2 separate regions of the Homo sapiens genome follow, and region 1 is linked to region 2. The links are contacts of gene promoters, found by promoter capture Hi-C in blood cells and fetal thymus (Javierre and others, 2016). All regions are on one chromosome and are shown on one strand. Each heading gives the region's core, a stretch centred on a gene start or on the middle of the fragment in contact. The rest is flanking DNA. Distances are from core to core; before and after follow the strand shown.

Region 1 (6,735 bases), core at 1,134-3,633, 41 kb before region 2:
TAACCATATAAAAACAAAAATAACTAAATGCGAAACTATGAGTTTCTCAGGTATGTCGCTTCTCCCAAGGCACTATCCTCCTGTCTTATCTTGACAGCATTAACTGTTATCTGAAATGATATTGTTCACTTATTTGTGTTCTACTTTTTTTTTTCTTTTTTTTTTTTTGAGACGGAGTCTCCCTCTGTCACCCAGGCTGGAGTGCAGTGGCACGATCTCGGCTCACTGCAACCTCCACCTCCCGGATTCAAGCAATTCCCTGCCTCAGCCTCCCGAGTAGCTTGGATACAGGTGCCCGCCATCATGCCCGGCTAATTTTTGTATTTTTAGTAGAGATCAGGTTTCATCATCTTGGCCAGGCTGGTCTCGAACTTCTGACCTCGTGATCCATCCACCTCAGCCTCCCAAAGTGCTGGGATTACAGGTTGTCTTCTACTTTCTAGAAAACAAGTTCCCTAACAGTAGAGACCTTAACTGTCTTATTCACTTTCAGATCTCTGACACTTAGAACAGTAGCTGGCACATAATATCTGCTCAAATACTGTTAAATAAATTCATTTAAGCACAATAAGAATTCAGAGAAGAAATAGATAAATATAGCTTCATTGAGAAACTACAAAGAATTGTGGCCTAATTGTTGGGTAGGGATCTGAAGAGCCACAAAGAGAGAAAGAGAGGGAAGTCAGACAAAAGGAGCAGCATTAACATTTTACTTCAGGGAAGTTGAAGAGAACAGACTTATGAAACAAATGGTTCAAGTACAAGGGTATTAAATTTTGAATATGTAGGGTGGATTAGAGGCAGTCTTGAAAACCACAAGGAATAGTCAAAACTAAACTGGAAAACCACTAGGCGTTCTTATGATTTTCTGATTTGAAGACAGACATGGAGAAAATGGTATTTTAGAAAGCTGACTTTGGGTTGGCACACGTGTACAATCTTTTATTTGAAACCTTTCAAGCCAAACACGTCTTGGAACTCAGCATGTTTCATGTTTTAGAAAGGAATATGCTAGGTGTATCATATCTTACAAAACACACTAAGCAGGATCTGGGGTAACACATTAACTCAAATGTATTCAAGTTTAAAAGGAAAACATGGATATTTCACAAAACAGGATAAATAAAGAGTACCTATACGGCCTTAAGAAGGTTGGGGCTTGTGGCCAAATGATAAGAGTGTTTTCAGAGCATTCATATTTCAGAATTTCAGAAAAGGGTTATGGACCTGTAATATTGAGAATAAACTAAAGAAGGAATCAAAGGCTAAAAAGGCGGCTTGCAGAGATCAGCAAGTTTGGTCTATTCTACCTAACTAATAGCTACCATTTACTGAGCATTTATAGGCACTATGCTAAGAGCTTTACAGGCATTGCCTTGTTTAAATCCTCACAATAATCCTATGTACAAGAAGGTACTGTCTTGTTTTACTCATCAGGAAATCAAGGTTTACAGTCATTAAGTCATTTGCCTAAATCACAAAGATAATAAATTACACAGTCCAGATTAGCATTCAGGTCTGACTAGAACACACACTCTAGAACATCTATCTATATTCTGAAATCTGTGTGCAACAGTCTTCATCAGTATAACAATACTGGTTAGAGCTCCAGCTCTTTTTCAGTCTCGGCCTTTCCAGGTGCTCTTTGCTCTGCTTACAGCACCCGCTCCATCCCACCTCACCTCTTTCTTAATCATCTAGCCATCTTCTACTCAACTGTTCTGCTCTCAGCTAAGGATACAGTTGATCCTGTTATAGTCTCCCATGGTTCCTTCTGCAACACATTCCACGTATCAAATCCTAATTACCTATCAATATCAGTCTTCTGTGCAATACTGTAAACTCAATGTAGTAAGGACCAGGTTTTTCTCGATTCCCACTGTGTCCTCAGGTTTTTGCACTATTTCTAGCACATAGTAAGTACTCAAACCTGTGATGATTGACAGAATTGGGGCTGGGGGAGGAGAGAGACAGAGGAAGAGAGCGACAGAGAGAGAATGTGATCCAGTTGCAAGATGATAAAAGCTTAGCCTAGGATGGGAGCAATATAAATAGATAAGGCAGTTAGTATATATAATTTTGTTTAAAATAACGCTTGTTATTGAAGCAATGTACCCAGACATATGATTGCTGTTTGTATTAAATAGAGTAATTTAAATATCTGTTGTTATGATTACTATCTTTATAATGCAAAAATAACCTCTAAATGGCTATGATTATCACTCTGGAGATACTTCACCTCACAATGACTTGCTATCTGTCTACTTCAAGCAGCTTTTACAAATAACCACATCATTTAGTTTTCTGATGTAGTTGCAAAATTAATCTGACAAAACAAAATGATTCACTGCTTTAAAAATTCAAGAGTATAAATTGCCAAAAACTGAAAATTATACCTGAGTTGTGAATAAGGTATTATTATATTTTTTGTAGGAAAAAATACATAAAAGTCATACAGTGATTTAAGTTAACTTCACTATTAGTACTTTTAACTGATGGTCTTGAATTTGCAAACAATCCCCAATTCAGGAATGGGCCATGTCTCAAAATTCACTTGTATAGCAGTTGTTTAGCTCTTGGAACACATGTATCCAAAGGCGTTAACCCATAAGAAATCATTTCCAGAGTGAAAGCAGACAAACTTCTCTACATGGAAAACAAAAACAGCTCATTTACTCACACAGGAAGAACTTTAAAAATCACTAAATATTATATCAAATATTTAAAACGTAGAAGCTTAAACAGAATGTGATTATATGGTGAACAAAAAATAATTTTCAGAAAATTTAAAAAGTGTTTTTGGAAAAATTTAATATTATAAATTACTCAATTTTATAAACTTCATTTTTCCCCCAATGGGCTTCAGATTCTATGCTGAGTAGTGATAACTGAAAAAACCTTTTGTCTCATAATGTTCCTTAAATAGTTTTTTACTTAGTTTTAATTTGGATAAGAGATTCTTTCTCAACATAGTGACAGAAATTGTCAAAATAATAAATAACACATTGTAGGAAAATATCATTTATGTCACTGTGTTTTACAAATAATATCACAATGAATTAACAGGTAGTTTTAATTTTTTTACTTTTTATGATTTGGGGCAAAGCAACACTTGTATCTGTTTATGCTGATAGATCTCAAATTTCTCCTACTCTGTTGTGTTTCTCACGACGGACTCTTCGCTGTATTTAAATAATTGAAGTGGAGTAAGAGCTGCAAATAAATCAGCAACTATACTTAGCCCCTGAAGCCTCTTAAGTATTAATCACTGATCAGTTGCAATATAAAAAAGATGAGCTGTATGTCCCTTTGCCTGAAAACTCACAAGCAACCCAAGCACTAACCCTTATAATGACCCTTATACATACACAGGTCAAAGCAAATTATTCAGATTTTTATTTTCTCTTTTAATTAATATTATGAATCACAGAGATTTTTAAGTCTAAAGATTTTGATGTAGAAAACATTTTTTTCCTTTTCATCTGGATGTTAAGACAACAGTGATGTATTTTATATAATCAATATATAGATCACGGTTTGCATAAACCCATTAAATATGAAGTGGCTGTTAACCTTGCCTACAACTCTTTGACTTTGCTGATGCCAACAAAGGCTTCAAACCAGCAAAATCAAGCCCTTTCATAGGGGCTCCTGAAAACCACTGACAGATACATATTATATTTCTGCACATAAGACTCCAGCCATGTCAAATCTGCCAATAACACTCAGTGTGTATGAGACGTCTTCTTTGAAAACAGAGAAAGTCTGAATTATGAGGATAAATTTGAGATGGTCTAAACTTATTTTAATAGCATTCATTCAAGTTTCTATTTTCCTCACTGCTGCGTAATTTGGTTTTATAACAGTTTGGCCAATTAGGGACTGGGTAGGTTGAAATTAAATGTTACTATGAAGCTGACAGAATGATTTACAGTCAGTAGATCACTGAAAAACAAATAAAGATACGCTTAAAAATTTATAGAATTAGCCAAGCGTGGTGGCTCACGCCTGTAATCCCGACACTTTGGAAGGCGGAGGCGGGCGGATCACTTGAGGTCAGGAGTTCAAGACCAGCCTGACCAACATAGTGAAACCCCGTCTCTGCTAAAAATACAAAAAAATTAGCCATGCGTGGTGGTGGGCGCCTGTAATCCAAGCTACTTGGGAGGCCGAGGCAGGAGAATCACTTAAACCCAGGAGGCAGTGGTTGCAGTGAGCCGAGATCGCACCACTGCACTCCAGCCCGGGCAACAGAATGAGACTCAGTCTCAAAAAAAAAAAAAAAAAAAAAAAAATTATAGAATCACTCTTATGGGGTTACCATAAGTTCTGGCCCCACATTACTGTGTCAGTACCATAATCATAGCCAAGTTTTTTACAAAATTCCTAAATTAACTTCTCTTCAATTACCATTCTATTTGCTAATAATGTTAAACTTATTTTCAACAAAATTACCTATTTAGTAGCCATAATCAATACTACTGAAGTTTTCTACATACATGGGCCCTTCGTAGCCCTGATGAAACATATGGAGTTAGTTCTGCGACTACATTTTCTTACAGAAACAAAGTTCTCAATGATGGTTGAATTCGCAAATCAGCTTTAAAAAACCTTATTAAAATCCTATAAAAATCTATAATACACCTTCAGAGTCACACTGGTAGTAAGTAGTATTCCAACTCCATTCTCCTTTGAAACAGTTTCTGTAGAAAATACCCATTCTAACACGAGGTGTAAAAAACTTGATTTTTCCTTTCTATAGGCAGGACTGGCTATACCAGTGATGGTACATAAAGGGACAGAAGAGAGACAGCCACTTATTTCAACATAAGACTTCAGAGAGTAACCACAGAAGACATGATTACAGATCAAGCTTCTTAGGTGTCTTAATTGGGAAACAAGGGGCAATTTATTCCTTCTATTTAAAAAAATTATCCTGGCATCTAAATTCCCTCATAAACACTGCCTCTAGAGTACTTACAGTGAATTTGTTCAAGAACTTAAGTCAAACTTGACCCACCAGGTTAAAAGGTCTCTTCATTTTCAGGTATTCACTGAGCTCTGAGTATCCCAAATTTCATGAACTATACACAAGCACCCACCTACTTGAGCTTTAAACAGTGATCACTTTTTTTAGGAAGGAACTAGAATGGCTTCTTCCCCTCTCCATTAATAGCATAAGAGAATGTGCTAAGACTGGCATTTTCTTTCACATGAAATGCAGAAATGAGACTGTATGTAGACTCAAAGCTACAAACATAACTGAATATGAACACGTAACCCACAGATATTGAAAGGGTGACACAGTTTTAAAACTTAAAAGTTATGATGCAATGTCAGTCGCCAGTAGCCAACAATGTAGAGTGCTTCCTGAGCTACAATATGCTTGAAAAAACCTGGAAACACCACAAAAGTGGAATTTTTTATTACTCCCAAGGTCTTAGTTCAAACTTTGATTTTAGCATTTATCATAGTGCGATAATTTCTCACTAGAATGTATGAATTTCCTAAGGCAGGAGGTGGGTCTTATATAGTTTTGTATATATTACATAAATGGGTTAAAGATGGCCTCTGTATATTGGCCTTATGTTGTTTACTTCTTCACAGCAGCATAAGACCCATTAGCTCAAAGCCCACCTCAAATTGCTACATATCCAATTATTTTAAATGTAGCCCAAACAAACCAATTTTTAGCCATTAGAGCCTGCCTGGTTTGCCTACACTGCTGCAGCTAGACAGCAACAAGTCAAGGAAATACAGTAGAGGAAGGGAAGGAAACAGGGACAAGGGAAGAGAGAAAGAGGAGAGAAGGAGGGAACGAATGAATGAATGAGAGTCTCTCTTTTTTTTTTTCTAAGACGGAGTCTCGCTCTGCTGCCCAGGTTGGAGTGCAGTGGTGCAATCTCAACTCACTGCAACCTCCACCTCCCAGGTTCAAGCAATTCTCCTGCCTCAGCCTCCCAAGTAGCTGAGATCACAGGCGCCCACCACCACGCCCGGCTAATTTTTTGTACTTTTAGTAGAGACAGGCTTTCACCATGTTGGCCAGACTGGTCTCAAACTCCTGACCCCAGGTGATCCGCCCTCCTTGGCCTCCCAAAGTGCTGGGATTACAGGCATGAGCCACTGTGCCCGGCCAAGAGTCTCTTTAAATGCCAAATTGTAGACATGAATACCTAAAAGGAAATTGTTAATTTATAATTTGTATATTAAAAAGAAAAAAGAAAAGCTAGACCTAAAGAGAGAGCATCACTACTATTAGTACTACTATTTATGATTCACTGAGCACCTTCTATGTGCCAGGCATTGTTTTTAGTTCTCTGATTTAATTAATTCCTAAAACAAACCTGTAATGTAGCTATTATTATTATTCCCGTTTTTCTGATTAGGAAACCAAGGCATACTGAGGTAAAAACAGAACCATATAATGTTCTCTGTCCTGTATGCAGCATCATGGTTCCAGCAGCAAATACACCTTCACAAGGTAAACAGCAAACAGAGTACTATGGTATGATGCATGACCCATCATAGTAGAGGGAAGCACCTCAACATATTCAATAGTTCCCTTGGCTGAAAACCACTGAAACTGTTTGACCTGACATGTTAGATCATTTACATAGTTTACTTTCAGAATTTGAGCAAGGGCTATGGAGCACAAAGGTCATGTGTCTCCTAGATCACTTTACATAAACTTAGCTTGTGTATAAAGCTGTTAAATTTATTTTCAAACACAGG
Region 2 (7,532 bases), core at 3,705-6,204:
TTTGCAGAGACAAGATCAGCATGTAACATTCAGACTCATGACAGTTATTGAGTCCAGAAGAAGGAAAGCCCTCACTAAACTGAAGTAATCGGTGTTTAATGGAAGAGTGAGAGAATATTGAGACATGAGCTGGGCTGTGAAAGGGGGTGAAAGTTATAAAAGAGAAAGGGGTGGCCATTTCAGATTTGGTGGGGATGTTCAGGGTGTGTGGTACTAAGGAGAGGCAAGGGAGGTGGCAGAAGGAAACTGAGGTGCAGAGAAAAACACCTAGTAAATGGATGAGCTGGTAAATGAATGAATGGATAAGCTGCAACTGGAATCCAGGTCTCCAAATATCAAAAACTCTTTTATGCTACTCTGCTCCTTCTAAATGGTCTTCCTGCCTCCATTCTAGCATGCTTTTCCAAGAAATTCTCCAAAGTACTTTTTTTTCTGAAACCCAAATCTGATCAGGTCATTCTCCGCCTTAATCTCTTTAATGGGTTACCCCTACTTTCAGAAAGAAGTTGAAACTCTAACATGGCATACAAGATCCATCATGATCCGGACCCCGTCTCTTTTCTAGCAAGTCTACCATGTGTACCCTTTGTTTCAGCCATATTCATCTAAGTGAACTTTCTTTATTGGATATGCTCCCTTATCTGTTTACCTTTGTATATGTTGTTTTTTCAACCTAGAATGCCTTTCCCTCACCTATTTTCTTCAGCCTTCAGCTGCAAATGTCACCTACTGCGATAAGCCTTTTCTTACTCAAGCATGCAATTCTACGTAGATGCCTCTCCATGACCACCCCCAACCATGCATATTCCTATAGCAACTTATCACACTGCTTTTTTTTTTTTCCTTAAAGAGATGGGTTCTCTGTCGCCAAGGCTGTAATACAGTGGTATAGTCACAGCTCACTGCAGCTTCAAACTCCTGAGCTCAAGAAATCCTCCTGCCTTAGCAGCCTGTGTAGCTGGGATTATAGGCACAAGCTACCACGTCTGGCTCACATTGCATTTTAAGCATTAATTAACTTCCCTGTCTGTCTCAGTAGACTACAAGTATCTTTGTATCACCAACCCTTAGAATTATGCCTAGCACACAGTAGGTACTCAGTAAACCTGTATTGCATAAATGAAATCATTGTTGCTCATACCTTATCATTAAAAATCAAGACTGGGTGCAGTGGCTCAAGCCTGTAATCCTAGCACTTTGGGAGGTGGAGGTGGGTGGATCACTTGAGGTCAAGAATTCAAGACCAGCCTGGCCAATATGGTGAAACCCCGTCTCTACAAAAATACAAAAAAGATTAGCTGGGCCTGGTGGTGCACACCTGTAATCCCAGCTGCTAGGGAGGCTGAGGCAGGAGAATCGCTTGCACCCAGGAGGCAGAGGTTGCAGTGGGCCGAGATCACACCACTGCACTCCAGCCTGGGCAACAGAGCGAGACTCCGTCTCAAAATAAATAAATAAATAAAAACATAATTTATCCAGTTGTAAACAAATAACCAAATAGGAAGTTACATAATAACCAGAAAAATTAACTAATTTGACTTTACTGTTTGAAGAACCAAAGGCTTCAGAAATTATGCAGGAACACAAAGTCAAAAATGCAAAAACATCAAATACTGTTAGGTCACTCTACACTACCGTGTGGTGTGGGGTGCGGTGTTCTGCATCAACATTGGCCTCTCTTAATGGTTAAGTCACTGCCTTAAATAAGTAGGATTCAAGATGTAGTTCCTTCACAACATTTATAGAGCTTTCTCTTCTACTCAATTTAACAAAATGCATTCCATGGTTGACATCAAATTACAAATTAATCTAAGATTCATGCTGTTTGATGACATGTTGCAATCTGGGCCTAACCAAAATAGTTACATAAAATCCAAAACTCTACTACTAATGCATTATTCAAAATGTGATGAGTCCAAGACAGGAATGCCTTATTTTAAAAGAATCAAAACAAAAGGGTCATTATGAGGATGCTTATATGAAAAAAACTGAAGTGAATTCCATTAAATTTTTATTTAAGTAATCTTAAATAGAAATCATTATAGTGTTGAAATGCCACTCTGAAAAATTTCTCACTAATACTCATTAAAAAGTTGAGGATATAAATGAAAGCAGTTCCTCTCTATAGAAAATCTGCTTTCCAGGCTGACCAACATGGTGAAATCCCGTCTCTACTAAAAATACAAAAATTAGCTGGGTGTGGTGGCACGTGCCTGTAATCCCAGCTACTCAGGAGGCTGAGGCAGGAGAATCACTTGAACCCGGGAGGCAGAGGTTGCAGTGAGCCAAGATCGCGCCACTGGACTCCAGCCATGGCAACAGAGCGAGACTTCGTCCCAAAAAAAAAAAAAGAAAAGAAAATATGTGTTCCATTTCCATTTTTCCAGAATTCTGAGGAACTAAATGAAAACAACCAAACTACACAAGCCTTATACCTTATGAATCCATTATACTGGAGCGACTGAATTAATTTTCCTCTGTAGCGGAAATTTTAATCTATGTAGACATTGAGTAGTTAACTTCTTTTTTACCACTAGAAGAATTCGTTTCAATATCAATCACCTGTGTGGTCAATGCCATTTCCCCTTCTTCCCTACTCAGTAACTTAGAGTGGAATCAACTATTCTTTCCTTTACTTTCTATCTTTTGTAATGCCATAGTTCTTACTCTTCTATAGGTAATGGATGCCTTTGAAAAACTGATGAAAGCCATGGGGCCCAGAAAAATAAATGTACCCATATACACTCAAATATTTTCATACAATTTCAGGAGTTTAAGAACCCCTATGCCCCAAGATCACCTACACAAATAATTTCTATCACCATATGGCTCTCTTTTATAATCCCATACCACAACTCCTTTACACTCATATACACACACAAATTAAGGACTAGTTCAGAGATTATTAACATAATACTCAAAATAAAAAAATTTCATCTAAGTAAAGTTGTATCTTACTAGCAAACTTCTAAGAATCCCAGATGAATTCTTTCCTGAAAAGCTTACTAAATCTTACTGTTTGGTCAACTTGCTTGCCTTAAAATGTGCCACAATGTCTTCCTAAATTTGTTTTTGTTAACTCTGACACATCTGCTTGTAAAATCACGTAAGGCTCAAAAGTTATGTTTGAGCAAAAAAAGAAAATTCATGTTAATATTAACAAACTCTTGGATTCAAATCTTGTTCTACCGTATCAAGCTATGTTCAACACGGAACAGTGAAGTTAGCTAGGAACCGGAACAGTGAAGTTAGCTAGGAACTGAAAATGATACGATCTCATAACTATCTAGTTACCTTGTCAAAGCAAGTAAAACATAAAAGATGAATCAGGACAAATGGCTAAAGGGAAGAGAAGAATATAATCAAGGTGTTACTACTAACAGAGATAAGTGTTTTTTTTTTTCTCGAAAGCATACTTCTTAAAAGTGGCAGATTCTTGCTAGACGTACCAAACCATTTGTGGAAACTATCAGTTAACTTTTTACTTAAATTTTTAATCACTGATTAAACCACAGTTTTGTACTGGATCCAAACCAAATGGCCAGATGCCATAAGAAACGGCTTTATTTATATGTCACCCTCTCCTTGTCTATTATAATCAAGTTGGTAGTTAAAGCTGAAATCTATACATTCAACATGTGGCTTGTGCTTCGGATCTGGACTAAGAATACAGCTCTAAGGAGTATCTGCTGAATTTGTACAGGAAAACCCTTTCCCCTCACACCACCCAAATTAGAAAGTTTACAAAAAGCGGAACCCTTCTGATGAGCTGAGGAAACTCCAGTATTTCCCAATGCAATACCAGGCCTCATCGATTTCATTCCTCTGCACATTCAGTGGCAGGAAATGGACTGCTACCATCGGTTCACACTATCAGCACGGTGAGATTTGCACAGTTTGTGCCTACTGCTTTTGAGCGTTCTTAATCAACTAAGTGGAAGTACTGTATGACTATGCCTATTACACACACTCGACAGTTGGTGGTACCTCACCCAGCCTCAAACTCCCACGCGCCCCCACCCTTCCAAAGAAACATTTCTTGGGAGAGCACATGGAGAGAGGCAAGGAGGAGGAAAAAGGCACGTAGGCGCCTCTTCCTGAGATTTCTGGTAAAGTAGAAAGACTGGGAGCATAAATAGTGTTCTTCTTGATTTGCGAAGCTGTAGGTGGGCTCCCAAGGACTTGGAATAAAAAGGAGGGAGGTTCCCCTGCCCCGGACCCTACGCGTTAGGAGGCAAAACAGCAACTAACAAGAAGTGGGAGGAGAATGGAATCGCGCAAAGGTTTGCGCCCACAAGTTAGACAAACAACAGCCCTACCCAGTACTCGGGGTGTCCCCAAGTTGGGGCTGGGCCTTTCTCCTTCCCGCACCGCCTCCCGGGCTGACAAGAGTGAGAAAGGGGTTAAGTAGAGAAGGGGGTGCTCTTCCGCCCCCACGCCGTCTCCGCGCCTCGGCGTGGCCACTCCTTTAGCGGCTCCCCGAGTTGCACAGCGAGGTCGCGGTCATCCTTGGGAGGGGGCCCCGGGTGCCCCCGTGTTCAATGGCAGGAGGATCCCGGGGCTCTCCCTGTCCCTAAGGCCGGCGGGGGCTGCGGGAGCACTCACCAATTTGGGTTTGTTTTTCGTTTCCTCTTCATTGGCGGCCCGGTTCCCCGCGCTCCGCTTGTTGCTCCGGCCCCCACCGGGTTCCTCGCTGCCGCCTCCCGCTCCCGACGCCGCCGCCCCGGGCTGCTCCATCTTTCTCCGGCCCTGTCACCTGTGCCCTGTAACCCCACCTCTCCTCAACTGAGAAAGCACCTCGGGGCGCTCACACTGCCCCGCGCTGACTCGGCGGCACCTCTTCCTGAGGGAGAGAGTGTCTGCCCGGGAAGCTGCCGATTTCAGGCCCCCGGGACTCCAGGCTCCCAGGCACCCCCGACGCAACCACGCCGTTGCCACTACTCGGCGCTGGGGCAAGCCCTGCCCCTGAGCAGTTGCAATTACCACGGTCGCCGCCGCCCTCAGGGCGGTGTTTAGGGTGGAGGGAAAAGTAGGTGCCTATCTCTTTAAGAGGGCCTCAACACACGTGATTCTTCAAAGTGCCCGCATCGGCCGCCCGGGCGCGCAAAGCTGCTTCCTACTCCCGCAGCCGAGCCGGCCCCAGCTACTGAGCATGCCCGGCGCGGTGACTGGAGCCTAACAGAGCACTTTCAGCTGCGGTTAGGCACTGATTTCACTTCCTAGTGGCCCAGCGAGAACAGGGAGGGAACTAGTCAAGAGAAAGGAAGGGTAGCCCATTTTAGAGATGGGGAAACTGAGGCCCGGGAAGATCCGCCTGTAAGTTTCACTGGCGGGTCAACCTGAGTATCAGCTTTCACTTCTGTGGGCCACAGCACCTTCCCTCCCTGAGGCCTCTCCGGGGGTGTGGTCCTGCTACAGTCTGTGGAAAGACTTGATTGGCAAGGGAACTGGCATCCTATAGGAAAACCACCGGGAGTGCTGATTAATTGCCTCGACAGACTGTGTGTGGGTCAGAGTGGAAAGAGTGAGTGCTTTCTGTTGTCGTGATTACGTTGTGACCGAAGAAATACAGTTGTTCCTTTATTCCCTTGCTGCAGGGTTGTTGAAGCAGCAGGCGCCCACCGCTTAATCCCTAGGGGATTGTTAGGTTCTATAACCAAAACACTTACATACAGCTAGCAATTGAATTGAGTGCTATTTTCAGGTTCCCGAACTAGTTTAGAGTTGTTGTGGGGAGTGAATAAGATCATGTGTGTCAAAGCTTTGTTGTAAATGAAAATCCCTAGACAAATGCTAGGTGTTTTTGTGCAGCAGCAGGGCACTGTTGGGACGATAGTCTTAAGTCCTTGCGTCATACCTAGCATTTTGTCCTCAGGACAAAATATAGTACCCACACTGTATTTCTTCCATCCTCTTTAAATGATGCCCTTTAAAAGTAAAGGTACACACTGAGAACATTAGACGGGGTGGGTAGGATTTGAATGAACCACCATCATAGAATAGGAGCACATATGCTAGGAAAGCTACCTATAAAGTAAATTTAAATATGAAATCTATAAACATGCCATACACCTATTACTGAAGATATCTCCAGACTATGACTCCTTTTGACCTTCTCCCCTTCGGCCTAAATTTAATATGCTGAATGGAATTTGTATCTGAACATATTTATTGAGAGTGCATTAGGATGCATTTGACCATGCTATAGGTGCAAGGAGACAGCTAACTTGGGCAGTAGAATGAAAAGAACACCAGATATCTGAAAACAGCTTTAATTCTAGCTTTGTCATTGTCATTAACTTTCTTTTTTTTTTAATTCTGAGACAGAGTTTCCCTCTTGTTGCCCAGGCTGGAGTGCAAAGGTGCAATCTCAGCTCACCGCAATCTCCACCTCCCGGGTTCAAGCGATTCTCCTGCCTCAGCCTCCCAAGTAGCTGGGATTACAGGGACCCACCACCACGCCCAGCTAATTCTGCATTTTTAGTAGAGATGGGGTTTCTCCGTGTTGGTCAGGCTGCTCTCAAACTCCTGAGCTTAGGTGATCCGCCTGCCTTGGCCTCCCAAAGAGCTGGGATTACAGGCGTGAGCCACCGTGCCCGGCTGACTTTCTTTTTAATCATGGAGGTGTGACTTCTCTACTCCTAAGGTGGCAAGCTACCAAAGGACAGCAGAGAAGAGGGAATACATGCTCCCAAACAGGGTGCTCAAGGAGCCCCATGGTAACTTTGCTTTGTTGAAGTTCCCGTTTTACTTACTTAAAGTTTAGTGTATATTTTGAATTCAACTCACTACATACACACACACACAAACACAATTTATATAAATGTCTCCTCTCCTGAAAAATTGAGTCAAAATGGGTGCTTCAGAAAGACATGACCTGTTTAGCCAATGCGTAATTCCTGTTTGTGCCATAGGTGTGGTCCATAGCTGAGGGCCCTCCAAGCGCAAACATGGTTCAGTAATCTGCCCAGTAGACATTTCTTCAGCTCCTTAGAGTACACTAGGTGATACAGAGTGTCATGAGTAAGAAGGATGAAGATGACACAGTTTCCGCCTTTTAGAACTTCAGAGCCTACTGGGAGAGACAGACCATTAAAGAACTGCACTGCACTATAACAGATATGAACAGGAAGCCTTTGAAGCACATGAAAGAGGTAACTATCGGAGTGTCAGAGGCTCAGGGACACCTTCCCAAAGAAGATGATGTTTGAGCTGAGTCTTAAGGGTCTGATTCAAGTTAACATTTGTTGGCAGCCTACTAAGTGTGAGGTACTGTGCAAGGCATCATGAGTACAGTGGTGAACAAGACAGACATGGTTTGGTCTTAGGGAGCTTTCATGCTATCGGGAAAGATATATATAGTTTCACTCTTATTGCCCAGGCTAGAGTGCAATGGCGCAATCTCAGCTCACGGCAACCTCCGCCTCCCAGGTTCAAGCGATTCTCCTGCCTCAGCCTCCCGAGTAGCTGGGATTACAGGCATGTGCCACCACGCCTGGCTAATTTTGTATTTTTAGTACAGATTGGGTTTC

The links. Contacts are between HindIII fragments. The CHiCAGO score rates a contact against its expected background, and 5 or more counts as called.
Region 1: a contact is called between a fragment that was not itself captured here and the fragment with the promoter of DIAPH2 in region 2, in 1 of 17 cell types (monocytes). The highest score is 5.4, in monocytes.

Annotation. Positions count from the first base shown.
Region 1 is chrX:96,721,477-96,728,211 of GRCh38, reverse strand. All of the region lies in intron 1 of DIAPH2 (diaphanous related formin 2), which reads right to left. Among named protein-coding and RNA genes, the nearest start is that of DIAPH2, 40 kb to the right of the region's middle. The HindIII fragment of the contact is 711 bases long and covers 2,028-2,738 here.
Region 2 is chrX:96,682,264-96,689,795 of GRCh38, reverse strand. DIAPH2 (diaphanous related formin 2) reads right to left here and starts at 4,954. Exons shown (of 27, transcript NM_006729.5): 1 at 4,606-4,954. The coding sequence starts at 4,737. RefSeq lists enhancers at 3,737-4,450, 4,451-5,166. The HindIII fragment of the contact is 2,760 bases long and covers 3,004-5,763 here.